Linked DNA regions of Homo sapiens: all the other regions are linked to region 3. Evidence: promoter capture Hi-C in 16 types of primary human blood cells and fetal thymus (Javierre and others, 2016). All regions are on one chromosome and are shown on one strand. The core of a region is centred on a gene start or on the middle of the fragment in contact, and the rest is flanking DNA. Distances in the headings are between cores, read along the strand shown.

Region 1 (4,906 bases), core at 922-3,421, 300 kb after region 3:
ATTTTTCATTACAAGTTTTAAAACATATAAATCATGGTCTATTTTAAATGCCTTTTTCTAGATTGCAGAGATATTGTGTAACATTGGTGTCAAACTGTCTGATGAAGAATTTGAAAATGTATGGAATCTTGCATCAAAAAAGCATCACAGAGGAGAAGTTTGTGTTGAGAACATCAGAAATGTTCTAGATGAGCTACGGCATGCAGACCGGATCAAGTGTAAAACACTCATGTGATATTTTTGGACTTCATTCATTCAAGCAAAAGAATTATTAACTCTGTGTTTATCTAAAATGTTGAATCCATTCTGGTTTTAGATATTATGTTAGAGTTCACAGTGGTAAGACTCATATGCCTGTATGTGTTGCTAATAAATTAGATTTTGGATTTTAAAATTTATTGTTTTCCATAAAGCACCTAAGAGCTTGACAAGTGATTGAAGAGTTAACATTCAGCCTCAGCAAAGACAGTTCAGAATGATATTAGAAGTTTTGTAGGCCTAAGAATTCCATATATTTTAGTTGGCCGTCTGAATTCATAGTGTGATTTGTGATGCCAAGTTTAATTTTCTTTGTTGGTTAAGCCAATTTGAACTGCAATTTCTGTCACAGGTGATCAAAATGTAGTAACACACCAAGAGTAAGGAGATTCATGTTTATGTAGTGGACTAAAAGCTAGATCTTGTGCATGGAACTACAGGTGAATTTTTTTTTTTTTTGAGATGGAGTCTCACTCTGTCACCCAGACTGGAGTGCAGTGGCGCAGTGTTGGCTCACTGCAACCTCTGCCTCCTGGGTTGAAGCGATTCTCCTGCCTCAGCCTCCTGAGTAGCTGGGACTACAGGCGCGTGCCACCATGTCAGGCTAATTTTTCGTAGAGACGGAGTTTCACCATATTAGCCAGGCTGGTCTCGATCTACTGACCTTGTGATCTGCCTGCCTCAGCCTCCCAAAGTGCTGGGATTACAGGTGTGAGCCACCGCGCCCGCTACAGGTGAAAAATTTTAAGAAAAAAAAAAAGCGATCTTGACTTCCTTACATTTCCTTTTCTATTAAAAAATTACTTGTCTTTTAAAAATTAATTCTTTAAAAGAACAAATGAAGAATACAGCTAGAGGAGCTCTTTCCATATATTAAAAACCACAAATTGAAAGCTTTTAAGACAGCAAAAACAAGACAAAAGAAAACATTATAAGGTTTGGGGAATAAGCAATCTTTTCCAAATGATCTCTAAACTCATGCTTTCTTAACACGTTTGGCTTAAGTCATCAAACTATGGTCAAGCAGGCATGGGGCCGTTGCCCTTAAGGGAGGAGATAAGCCATCTTTCAGGATGGTCCTGATTCACTTTCCTAAATCTACTCTAAAAGTACCAATTGAGGTTCCTTTGTGTATCCTCCTCCTACCACTGGTGGGTTCTTTATATTTTGTCCCTGGTAGCCTATAAAATGGGTCAGAACTGTACGTTTTCAATGTCAAGGAAACTCCATTGACAAATAAAAAAGTTATCATTTTATTCTATTTCTCATTCCAACTTATGCCCAGTCATGTGGTCCAACATAGCGTATAAGGGATTCTACAATGAGAATTCTACAATGAGAATAAATAATAGCATTGAGATACTCTGGTAATAAAATGCCAACATAAAGATGATAAACATGAAGATGATAAAATTTGAATAAACTTTCTAGTGTCAAATTCACAGGAATAAATAATACCCAAATGTTAAATTTCCTTGCCAGTTAAAATCTGAAGATAAAATTCAAAGTAATTCAAGACTGAAATCAAATTATCTAGTGTCCAGTGAGTTAAAAATCCAAGGAAATTCTCTCTCCCTTTTTTCTGCTTCTGCCTAGTTTCAGCCAAGGTGTTTGGAAGACCTGGGGAGAGGTGTGTTTCCTTTAAGCAGCTGCGTCTTGAGCTGCTTCTCACTGGGAAGACCATAGGTCCATCCTGGCTCTTAAACTCATAGTCACTTAACTGAAGTGACTCAGCGGGCTGAGCTTCAATTTTAGGAAGTCAAAGATGTAACAAGGCATACAAGATTTCATAGCTCCCACCAAATTTAGGAAATAAGCCAATTCTTAGCTCTGAGAGCAGTTATCTCAGAGCAATTTTCTCAGTGAAAATTGTGTTTCTACAACCCAGTATCTGTATGTCACCGAAGCCATAGAAGAAATTATGTGATATCTGAGTGAAGGAGAGAAATGGAGAAAACCTTGATTTGAAACTTACCAGGGTGCTCATATGTGTACATTAGCTAGAATTTATGACCTATGGACTTAAACTAATTTGGAAGAAATGAAGTTAATTTTGATACTATGCATTTACTATATCTGGCCTAAAAATCTACTTTATGTATACTGTCTTCTCTTATTGGAGCACGACATTTGAAACATTATTTCCTTCATGCAATTTAGAAATTTTGGACGGAAGCCCAGTCTTTCCTTTTTTTTTTGAGATGGAGTCTCTGTCACCCTGGCTGGAGTGCAGAGGCACGATCTCAGCTCACTGGAACCTCTGCCTCCCAGGTTCAAGCGATTCTTGTGCTTCAGCCTCCCAAGTAGCTGGGATTACAGGTGTGTGCCACCATGGCAGGCTAATTTTTTGTATTTTTCGTAGATATGGGGTTTCACCATATTGGCCAGGTTGGTCTTGAACTCCTGACCTCAGGTGATCCATCGCTTTGGCCTCCCAAAGTGGTGGGATTACAGGTGTGAACCACTGTGCCTGGCTGGTCATTACTTTTTATTATGAAGTATCTGTCTTCCCTACTCAGCCTATTCTATACTTTTCATTATTCTTTGAGGTGCTAGGGACTGAATAGAGTGCAGGTGCTATTTAGCAGTCTATTGTCAATATTCTTTTCAAGTGCACCCCTTCAATTCTGTGCCTAGGAATTGCTTCCATTGCTTCTTGTTTCGGAATTGCCTAGGATTCAGAAACATACCTCCTGTTGAAGTTTCTTCTATGAGTTAAACCAGCTAGAATCAAAGTGGCACAGGTGATGGAAGTGATCCTTGAGCCACATGAATTTAAGTTTAGCTGATTGAGGGGTTTGCTCCCTGCCCTGAATGCAGGATGGCTTTGGGGCAAGGGACCTAGTGCTGCTTATCTGGGCAAACCCTGTTTAAAAGTTTGAGCCTTTTAATAAAAATTAGGGTAGCTGAACTGACATCATTTAAAAGCTTCACCTCTTGTTGTCTAGAAGATATGGATACATGGGGGCAACCCCCTTTGGGTCCCCTCCCTTTGTATGGGAGCTCTGTTTTCACTCTATTTTACTTTATTAAATCTTGCAACTGCACTCTTCTGGTCCATGTTTGTTACGGCTCCAGCTAAGCTTTCGCTCGCCGTCTACCACTGCTGTTTGCCACTGTCGCAGACCCGCCGCTGACTCCCATCCTGCTGCTGATTCCCATCCCTCTGAATCTGGCAGGGTGTCCGCTGTGCTCCTGAACCAGCCAGACTCCCATTGCCACTCCCGATCATGCTAAAGGGTTGCCATTGTTCCTGCATGGCTAAGTGCCTGGTTTCGTCCTAATCGAGCTGAACACTAGTCACTGGGTTCCACGGTTCTCTTCCGTGACCCACGGCTTCTAATAGAGCTATAACACTCACCGCATGGCCCAAGATTCCATTCGTTGGAATCTGTGAGGCCAAGAACCCCAGGTCAGAGAATACGAGGCTTGCCACCATCTTGGAAGCAGCTCGCCACCATCTTGGGAGCTCTGTGAGCAAGGACCCCGGTAACATTTTGGTGACCACGAAGGGACATCCAAAGTGGTGAGTAATATTGGACCACTTTCGCTTGCTATTCTGTTCTATCCTTCCTTAGAACTGGAGGAAAATACCGGGCACTTGTCGGCCAGTTAAAAACAATTAGAGTGGCCACCGGACTTAAGACTCAGGTGTGAGGCTATCTGTGGAAGGGCTTTCTAACAACCCCCAACCCTTCTACTGGGGACGTTGGTCTGCCCGGAGCCAGCTTCCACTTTCAATTTTCTTGGGGAAGCCGAGGGCCAACTAGAGGCAGAAAGCTGTTGTCCCGAACTCCCGGCAGTAGCCGGTTGAGATCATGGCACAGCCAGAAGTCTCTACTCAGCAGTGCGCCCCTACCTTTCCTTCTGAACCATGCCTCCTGGGTCCTGACTGGGACTTTCTTGAAAGTGTAGCCCCAAAATTCTCCTTACCTCTGAATCTACTTCCTCTGATCCCTGCCTCCTAGGTACTAATGGTTCAGACTTTCATTTCCTCTAGCAAGTTGTATCTCCAAAGGGATCTAAGGAGGCGCTACGCTGCGTCCTTAGGCACCTAGGCTATAACCCAGGGAGTCTTATCCCTGGTATCCCTTCCAATTTAGGTACACAGCTCTCTACATGGGCAGTTACGTGGGACCCGTTCCCCACCACCCTTGCCAGGGCCCCAAGTTTGTAAGGCTGAGAGAGAGAGACGGAGAGAGAGAGAGAGAGATGGAGAGAGAGAGAGACAGAGAGACAAAGAGGGAGTCAAAGAGAAAAAGAAAGAAAAACAGAAATAGTAAAAAAAAAAAAAAAAAAAAGTGTGCCCTATTCCTTTAAAAGCCAGGGTAAATTTAAAACCTGTAATTGATAATTGCAGATAATTGAGTGCAGAAGCGCGATCTGTTGTTGTCAGTGTAAATAAGGGCGTAGCAAGTCCTTAGCCCAGTAACCTGCGGATGGGCCAAATGCATTCAGTCGGTAGCGCAACTGCTTTGCTAAAACTAGAAAAGTAACTGTTAGAGGAAACCTCGTTGTGAGCACACCTCATAGCCAAAAAAACCAAAAAGGTAGCTTACTAACTCAAAAATCTTAAAGTATGGGGCTATTATGTTAGAAAAGGGTAATGTAACTCCAACCACTGATAATTCCCTTAACCCAGCAGATT
Region 2 (4,971 bases), core at 2,370-4,869, 280 kb after region 3:
GATGATTTCAAAGAAAAGTTTCAACATAAACTTGGAAGAGTTTTAGATCCGTAAGTTAATGATTAACTTCAAATTGATAGTTTCTTTGCATAGAATTTAAAAAATACTCTTGTGGTAACTGTTGGTGTGCCTATTAGATTCTATCTATTAAATAAGAAAATCATTATTTTATTGTTAATCAGTTAATCTGTTAATATCTATAGAATTTGGGATTCCAGGAAAGCAGTGAGTTCTCCAAAATGCAGAAGGCACTGGAGAAGAGAGAGGGATAATTTTGCATAAAGCATTATTTCTGGGATATCAGAGATTTAACTTACTGTGTTTATATTTTTCTTTGTCTTTCCTGTCTGTCTGTCTTGCTCTCTATTTATACTTTGGTAATTTTGCTTTGAATGTGTTCTGTGTGTTCTGCTTTTCTTTGTAATTCTGGGCTCCTGAAAGAGGGTGAAAACATTCAGTCATTGTTAATGCAAGTGGAAGATCAGACAAAAGATCTATTGGAGAACTTTTGTTTGATCTTCATAGTTTGGTTATGAGATAAAATATGGGCTACTAAGAACATATGGCAAACATATTTTAAATTCCAGAGATGCCATGTGGTGGGTATTTTAACTAAGGATTTGTTTTCTTTGATAGCATTGCAGAAACAATGAATGTTCCCCCAGACTGCACATTTGGAGCTTGTCTCCGTCCTGAGGAATATGGTAAATATACACACTTTCTCCGTAAAAAACCCCAAACAAACAGCAACAAAATCCCCACAAAGTTATGCAGTTAAGCTCACCATCTCCTTATTTCAAAGCTTCTAATTTTAAAGACTTAAAATGTTGCATTAACATTAATGAGAAAAGTGTATAACACAGAAGTAAATTTTTTTTCATATTATGTTTGAAATAGGTACAGTTGGAAGCCCTTGTAATAAGTACTGTAAGTGTAGTTAAGGCTTTGAATTTTATTTAGGAAAAATAAATATGGCCTATATTAAACAAGCCAAAGTGAAGTGGGGCAGCTTTTTAATTAATTTGGATATTGTCCTAGTCCTAACGTCTCAAAGTGTGGTCTGCAGACTGCCAGTATTGGCATCCCCTGGGAGCTCCTTAGAAATGCAGAATCTCAGGCCCCATCCCAGAACTATTGAATCAGAAACTGCATTTTAACTATATTTCCAGGTGAATTTTAAGCACATTCAAATATGAGAAAGCACTGTACTCTACAACCACATAATTAAGAACCACTCTTTTCCTACCAGCCAGCCAGCTAGCCAGTAAGTTGATCAATCAATCAATACATAAAGTAGCAGAAGAAACTTACTTGGATTTTGTCTTTATTTCTAGCCAATCTAAACAGCAGATATCCAAAGGGAAAAATATGCTACAGCTTATCAGGATTGGGCTGTATATCAGTGGTTTTCAAAACATGGGCTGCAGACTACCTGCATTAAAATCATCCAGGGAGTTTATTAAATCTGCACCTTCCTGGGACCCATGCCCTAGATATTCTGATTCAGTAGGTTCTTATATACACTAACGTTTAAGAACCACTATGAAAAATGTTTTGGCTAAAGTCAACTCATTGACAGGTAGAATAAATATTTATTGAGCTTATGCAAGACAGTGGTTTGGAGCATCATTAATTACTACATTAGGAAATTGTATTTGGGTTCTGTTTTTACACAAACTACTAATGTTTGATGGATGCCTATCCATCTTAGAGGCTTTAATATCTTTTGAAGAGGGTAAGGGATGATTAGGAAACCATCAATTAGCTTGAAAAAGAAGTAGGTAATCATGGTAAATTCTGCCTGTTTGAGGGCAAGCTTCATGCTGGTGGGTGCTCTGTCTTGCTGTCTGTTGGATCCTCAGGGTCCAGCACATAGGACATCTTTCATCAATATTTATAGCATGAATTGATGAATTAAAAAAGGAAGAGAAAGCTGAGAGTCCTGGCAGAAAGATGGGAGATGTGTGTACGCCAGGGAAAATGAAGAGAGGCAGGAGGTCTCCTCTGGCGATATCCACCGAGCCGCCACATCTGGAGCAGCATGGTCAACTCTAGTTGGGGTGTGGGTCAGGACTCTTAGTTAATGGAGCCGTGAAGGGAGGCAGGCCTCTAGTGCTGGTGGTGGCATGAGTGGAAGCAAGGCTGAGAAATGGGAAGTTGGTATGCAGACTGACGGCCAACTGGAAACTCACATAGGAGAGGGTAGATAATTTAATTTTTACAAGGCTCTCCCAGTTTAGTCAGTTCCAAGGCACACTGAGTGGTCCCCACCTGGAATCAGCCCTAGCTTTCAGATCCTCAGCACTGTAGACAAATGGCCAAGAGGTAGTCAAGCAAGAACTTCACTGTCCAGGGAAAAGACTTGACAGTTGAGTGCGGTTGGTGATGTCCACACAAAATTCATTCTTTTAGATTTTCTTCTTGAGCAGAGAGGTAACATAAACCAGGAATATTAATTTTTATCAATTAATTTATGTACTTTAGAGTACATAAGGATTTTCTGACATGCTGCATAATCATGTCAGAGTTAGATGTTTCTTTCATTCACAGAGGTTGCTAGATCTCTCACTTTTTTTAAAAGATAGAAATAATATAGAAAGACTTTAAATTTATGTAAAAAGTTTTTTCTCTCTTCAATAGGAGTTGGTGATCTCATCCATAATAGACTTCCGGATGAATATCTTCGAGGCAAGGATAGACAGCGAGCCCTGATTGCAGCAGTTCGGCATCACCTGAAGAAAGTTAATTACCAAAAGTTTGACACTTTGCTGGCAGCCTTCAGGCACTATGACAAGGCCAGTAATGGGGGAGAGCTTTTTGGTAATGCATGGGCTTACAGATCCCAGCAGTTTGGTGTAGATCAGGGGTCAGCAAACTATAGCCTGTGGGCCAAATCCAGCCCACTGTTTGTTTGTGTCAGTAAAGTTTTACTGGAACACAATCACGCCTGTGTTGTTTTCAGTATTGTCTGTGGCTGCTTTTGCAGTATGAATACAGAGTTAGGTAGTAGCAACAAAAACTGTATGGCCTTCAAAACCTAAAATATTTACTATTTGCCCCTTAACAGAAGACATTTGCTGACCCCTTTTGTAGATTATTGGTTGTCAAAGTGTGGTTCCACTACCACCATCACTATCACTTGGGAACTTGTTAGAAATGCACATTACAAGGCCCATTTCAGAAAATACTGAGTCAGGAACTCTGGGGTGGGACCCAGCAATTTTTGCAAGTGCTCTAGTGATTCTGATGCACATTCAAGTTTGAGAACCACTGTTATGGATTATTAAACTGCAGTGTGCTGGGAGCAAGGGGCAATGGGTAGCACTGGGGATCCCTGGGGAAGACTTGACAATCTACACCTAAATCTGAATATGTACACAGAGTACCTGCATTCTAGGTCCAAGTCAAGCTTAGAATGTCTTTTCCCTGGGGAGCAGGGTGTGGTTTTAGTTTTGAGAGTGTAAGATCATTCAATGTTCAAGCTACTCTAAATTTTATTCTTTGAATAAAATCAGATCAATCTAGGGCTACATAATTGCCTTGCTTCATTTTAGGCCATCACAGAATTGCTTTTACCGAGCTGCACTGCCTTTAGCTTATGCTGAGGAGCACTATAAGAAACTGCCATTGAAACGTGGCATATTTTTTGTTAGTATGCCCATGAGGCTTTTATTTTTGTCAGATGCATCTTCCTTATAAGAAACTCAGTCTTGACAAAGGAAATAATTGCACTTCATCTAAGTATCTGATGACTGGTTTTTATCTCATGGATAGCATGTATTTTGTATTGATTATGCACACCTTTTTACTTTGGTTACCAGGAAGCTTGGAGCCAACTCAATAAATAATGGTAGTGACATGAATAAGAGAACCTGCCATAATACGTAGTGCCCTGCTTTTAAGAATTCTTCATTTTAAATGTAATTAAAGGAAAGATGATCATCTTAATAGCTGTTGATTATCTAAGTAAACCACCAGGCATATTCCTTTTTTTTTTTTTTGAGACCGAGTCTCGCTCTGTCGCCCAGGCTGGAGTGCAGTGGCGCCATCTCGGCTCACTGCAAGCTCCGCCTCCCGGGTTCACGCCATTCTCCTGCCTCAGCCTCCCGAGTAGTGGGACTACAGGTGCCCGCCACCAGGCCCGACTAATTTTTTTGTACTTTTAGTACAGACGGGGTTTCACCGTGTTAGCCAGGATGGTCTCGATCTCCTGACCTCGTGACCCACCCGCCTCGGCCTCCCAAAGTGCTGGGATTACGGGCTTGAGCCACCGCGCCTGGCCCAAGCATATTCCTTATGATAAATTAAGCAGGGAGGAAATTACTGAGAATTATTTAATGCTGATATGCCTTACATATACATATATGCTTATATATAAATATATGTTGATATATAAATATAAATTATGTATATATTTATATATTATTTATAATATATAGATATAAACATTTATATATAAAAACTATATATTTTTATATATACATATATATATTTTTTGAGACAAAGTCTTGCTCTTGTCCCCCAGGCTGGAGTGCAATGGCGTGATCTTGGCTCACTGCAACCTCCGCCTCCTAGGTTCAAGCGATTCTCCTGCCTCAGCCTCCCAAGTAGCTGGGATTACAGGCACCTGCCACCACACCCTAATTTTCGTATTTTTAGTAGAGACGGGGTTTCACCATGTTGGCCAGGCTGGTCTTGAACTCCTGACCTCAGGTCATCCACCTGCCTCGGCCTCCCAGTGTTGGGATTACAGGTATGAACCACCGCGCCTGGCCTTGATATACCTTTTAATAGTTAACTCAATATGCACAATGTAGCATTCAGTCACCGTAAGGAGCTTTTTTTCTGAGAGGGTAATAAGATGTGGGTCTAGTACAGCTGTAGGTTAATTTTTGATTATTTAAATCTTATATTATTGGATGCCACATTTAATTTAATGGAAAAACAAAACACAAACACAACAGAGCAAAT
Region 3 (2,534 bases), core at 1-2,500:
CGTAAGCCACCGTGCCTGGCCTATAATGTTTTTAAAGATTATAAAGATTGAATGTCCCTTATCCAAAATGCTTGGGACCAGAAGTGTTTTGGATTTATTTTTTAAATTTTGGAGTATTTACATTATATCAGTTCATCATCCCTAATTTGAAAATCTGAAATCCAAAACCCTCCAGTTAGCATTTCCTTGGAGCATCATGACTGCACTAAAAAAGTTTTGGATTTCAGATTTTCAGATTAGGGATACTGAACCTGTACAAGATTCTTTCACATGTCAGATATAAGCCATCAGTTGATCACTGACAAGTAAATAGATGGTAATATTTAAGTTCCCAGGTTTTTATTTACAGATTTTATAATGTAGGAAAACTACAGAATGACCTTTTGGTCATTCACTTTTTTAGTTTGAATTCTAAAGTTCTTGAAATTCAAATTTCCACAAAGTAAAACTACTTTTCTCATTTATTTTTTAAATTCTCAGATCAGATACCTACTATTCCTCAAGACACACTGGGAGTTGATTTTGATTCAGGTGAAGCTAAGTCTACTGATAATGTCTTACCTAGAACTGTATCTGTTCGTAGCAGTTTAAAGAAACATTGTAACAGTATATGTCAGTTTGATAGCTTGGATGATTTTGAAACCAGTCATTTGGCAGGGAAGTCTTTTGAATTCGAAAGAGTTGGATTTTTAGACCCACTAGTAAACATGCACATACCTGAAAATGTACAACACAATGCTTGTCAATGGAGCAAGGACCAAGTTAACTTATCACCAAAGCTGATTCAGCCAGGAACGTTTACTAAAACAAAAGAAGACATTTTAGAATCTAAATCTGAACAAACTAAAAGTAAGCAAAGAGATACACAAGAAAGAAAAAGAGAAGAGAAAAGAAAAGCTAACAGGAGAAAATCAAAACGTATGTCAAAATATAAAGAGAATAAAAGCGAAAATAAAAAAACTGTTCCCCAAAAAAAAATGCACAAATCTGTCAGTTCCAATGATGCTTACAATTTTAATTTGGAAGAGGGTGTTCATCTTACTCCTTTCCGACAAAAAGTGAGCAATGACTCTAATAGAGAAGAAAACAACGAGTCTGAAGTGAGCCTCTGTGAATCAAGTGGTTCAGGAGATGATTCCGATGACCTCTATTTGCCCACTTGCAAGTACATTCAGAATCCCACGAGCAATTCAGATAGACCAGTCACCAGGCCTCTAGCTAAAAGAGCACTGAAATACACAGATGAAAAAGAGACGGAGGGTTCTAAGCCAACAAAAACTCCTACCAGTAAGTGATCTACTTGTTTACCTGTATTTTTAATGTTCGTGATAAATGATCACTCCTGATGCTTATATACTATACTTACCATCTGTTTCTCTGGTGGAGGTTGGAGACTTACCATCTGTCTCTCTTTGGTGGAAGTTATGGTCTGATTAAACAGTGGGGGGCTGGGTGTGGAAATCACAGTTGTATTGCTCTGACCTAATTCAGAGATTGCTTGTTATGGAGACAGAATTTTTATTTTCAGTAAATTAGGACTCCCAAGGGGACAGAGGGACTTTTTTGTAGACTTAGGTTGAATTGAAGTAGCTTTTATACACTTAACTGAAGTATCCCCTTGAAAGTGAAATCAAATTTGAATCCAGTGACTTGTTATTTTAATGGCCTTGTTTTATATTAAATTTGACAGGAACCGTGATTTAAAATAATCTTCTAGTTAGTGAAGATTTCCTCAATTGATAGGCTTAGTATTCTTTTGTACGACATCTCTAAAAACTGGCTCAGAAAATATTTTATTAGATCAAAAGTAGGCATAGTTCAAATGTTCGTAATACAACCTACACCTGTCCACAAAGATTCTCATTTGGCAATTTTAGTTAATACAAGTAAAACTAACATTTATAGTCAAGTTGTATCATTTTCAAAATATTGTCACATCATTTTATTTGATCCTCAGAACAATTCTGTGAAGTATAGGTGTTATGATGCTTATTTTGTTTGTAAGGAGATTAAAACCTTAAAAACCAAACCAACTTTCTAAATCGGCCAGTTAGTCAGTGGTAGCAGGCAAGTATCTTTTTTAAAAATATGCTGTAAGCCGGGCGGGTTGGCTCACGCCTGTAATCCCAGCACTTTGGGAGGCTGAGGTGGGCGGATCACCTGAGGTCAGGAGTCCAAGACCAGCCTGGCCAACATGGTGAAACCCCATCTCTACTAAAAATACAAAAAAATGAGCCAGGCCTGGTGGTATGTGCCGGTAATCCCAGCTACTCGGGAGGCTGAGGCAGGAGAAAAAGAATTGCTTGTACCCAGGAAACAGAGGTTGCAGTGAGCCGAGACCATGCCATTGCGCTCCAGCCTAGGCAACAAGAGCGAAACTCAGTCTCAAAAAAAAAAAAAGCAAAAATGCTATAATGATGTTAGAATAAATCAAACATGATTGTCAAAGTGTTGATAATTATTGGACCTGGGTAACTCAGAGTTTATTATACTGTTATTGCCATCTTTGTGTACATTTAAAAATGTCCAGAAAA

What was found. Contacts are between HindIII fragments. The CHiCAGO score rates a contact against its expected background, and 5 or more counts as called.
Region 1: a fragment that was not itself captured here is called in contact with the fragment with the promoter of SGO1-AS1 in region 3 in 2 of 17 cell types (neutrophils and erythroblasts); the score reaches 6.2 in neutrophils.
Region 2: a fragment that was not itself captured here is called in contact with the fragment with the promoter of SGO1-AS1 in region 3 in 1 of 17 cell types (fetal thymus); the score reaches 5.4 in fetal thymus.

Annotation. Positions count from the first base shown.
Region 1 is chr3:19,874,960-19,879,865 of GRCh38, reverse strand. EFHB (EF-hand domain family member B) reads left to right here. Exons shown (of 13, transcript NM_144715.4): 13 at 62-394. The coding sequence ends at 235. Among named protein-coding and RNA genes, the nearest start is that of EFHB, 57 kb to the left of the region's middle. The HindIII fragment of the contact is 2,034 bases long and covers 1,155-3,188 here.
Region 2 is chr3:19,894,511-19,899,481 of GRCh38, reverse strand. EFHB (EF-hand domain family member B) reads left to right here. Exons shown (of 13, transcript NM_144715.4): 7 at 1-50; 8 at 637-704; 9 at 2,641-2,795. Among named protein-coding and RNA genes, the nearest start is that of EFHB, 37 kb to the left of the region's middle. The HindIII fragment of the contact is 416 bases long and covers 3,412-3,827 here.
Region 3 is chr3:20,173,002-20,175,535 of GRCh38, reverse strand. It overlaps SGO1-AS1 (SGO1 antisense RNA 1), which reads right to left and starts at 1,250. Exons shown (of 4, transcript NR_132785.1): 1 at 1,011-1,250; 2 at 718-801. SGO1 (shugoshin 1) reads left to right here. Exons shown (of 8, transcript NM_001199251.3): 6 at 481-1,287. The HindIII fragment of the contact is 5,926 bases long and covers 1-2,534 here.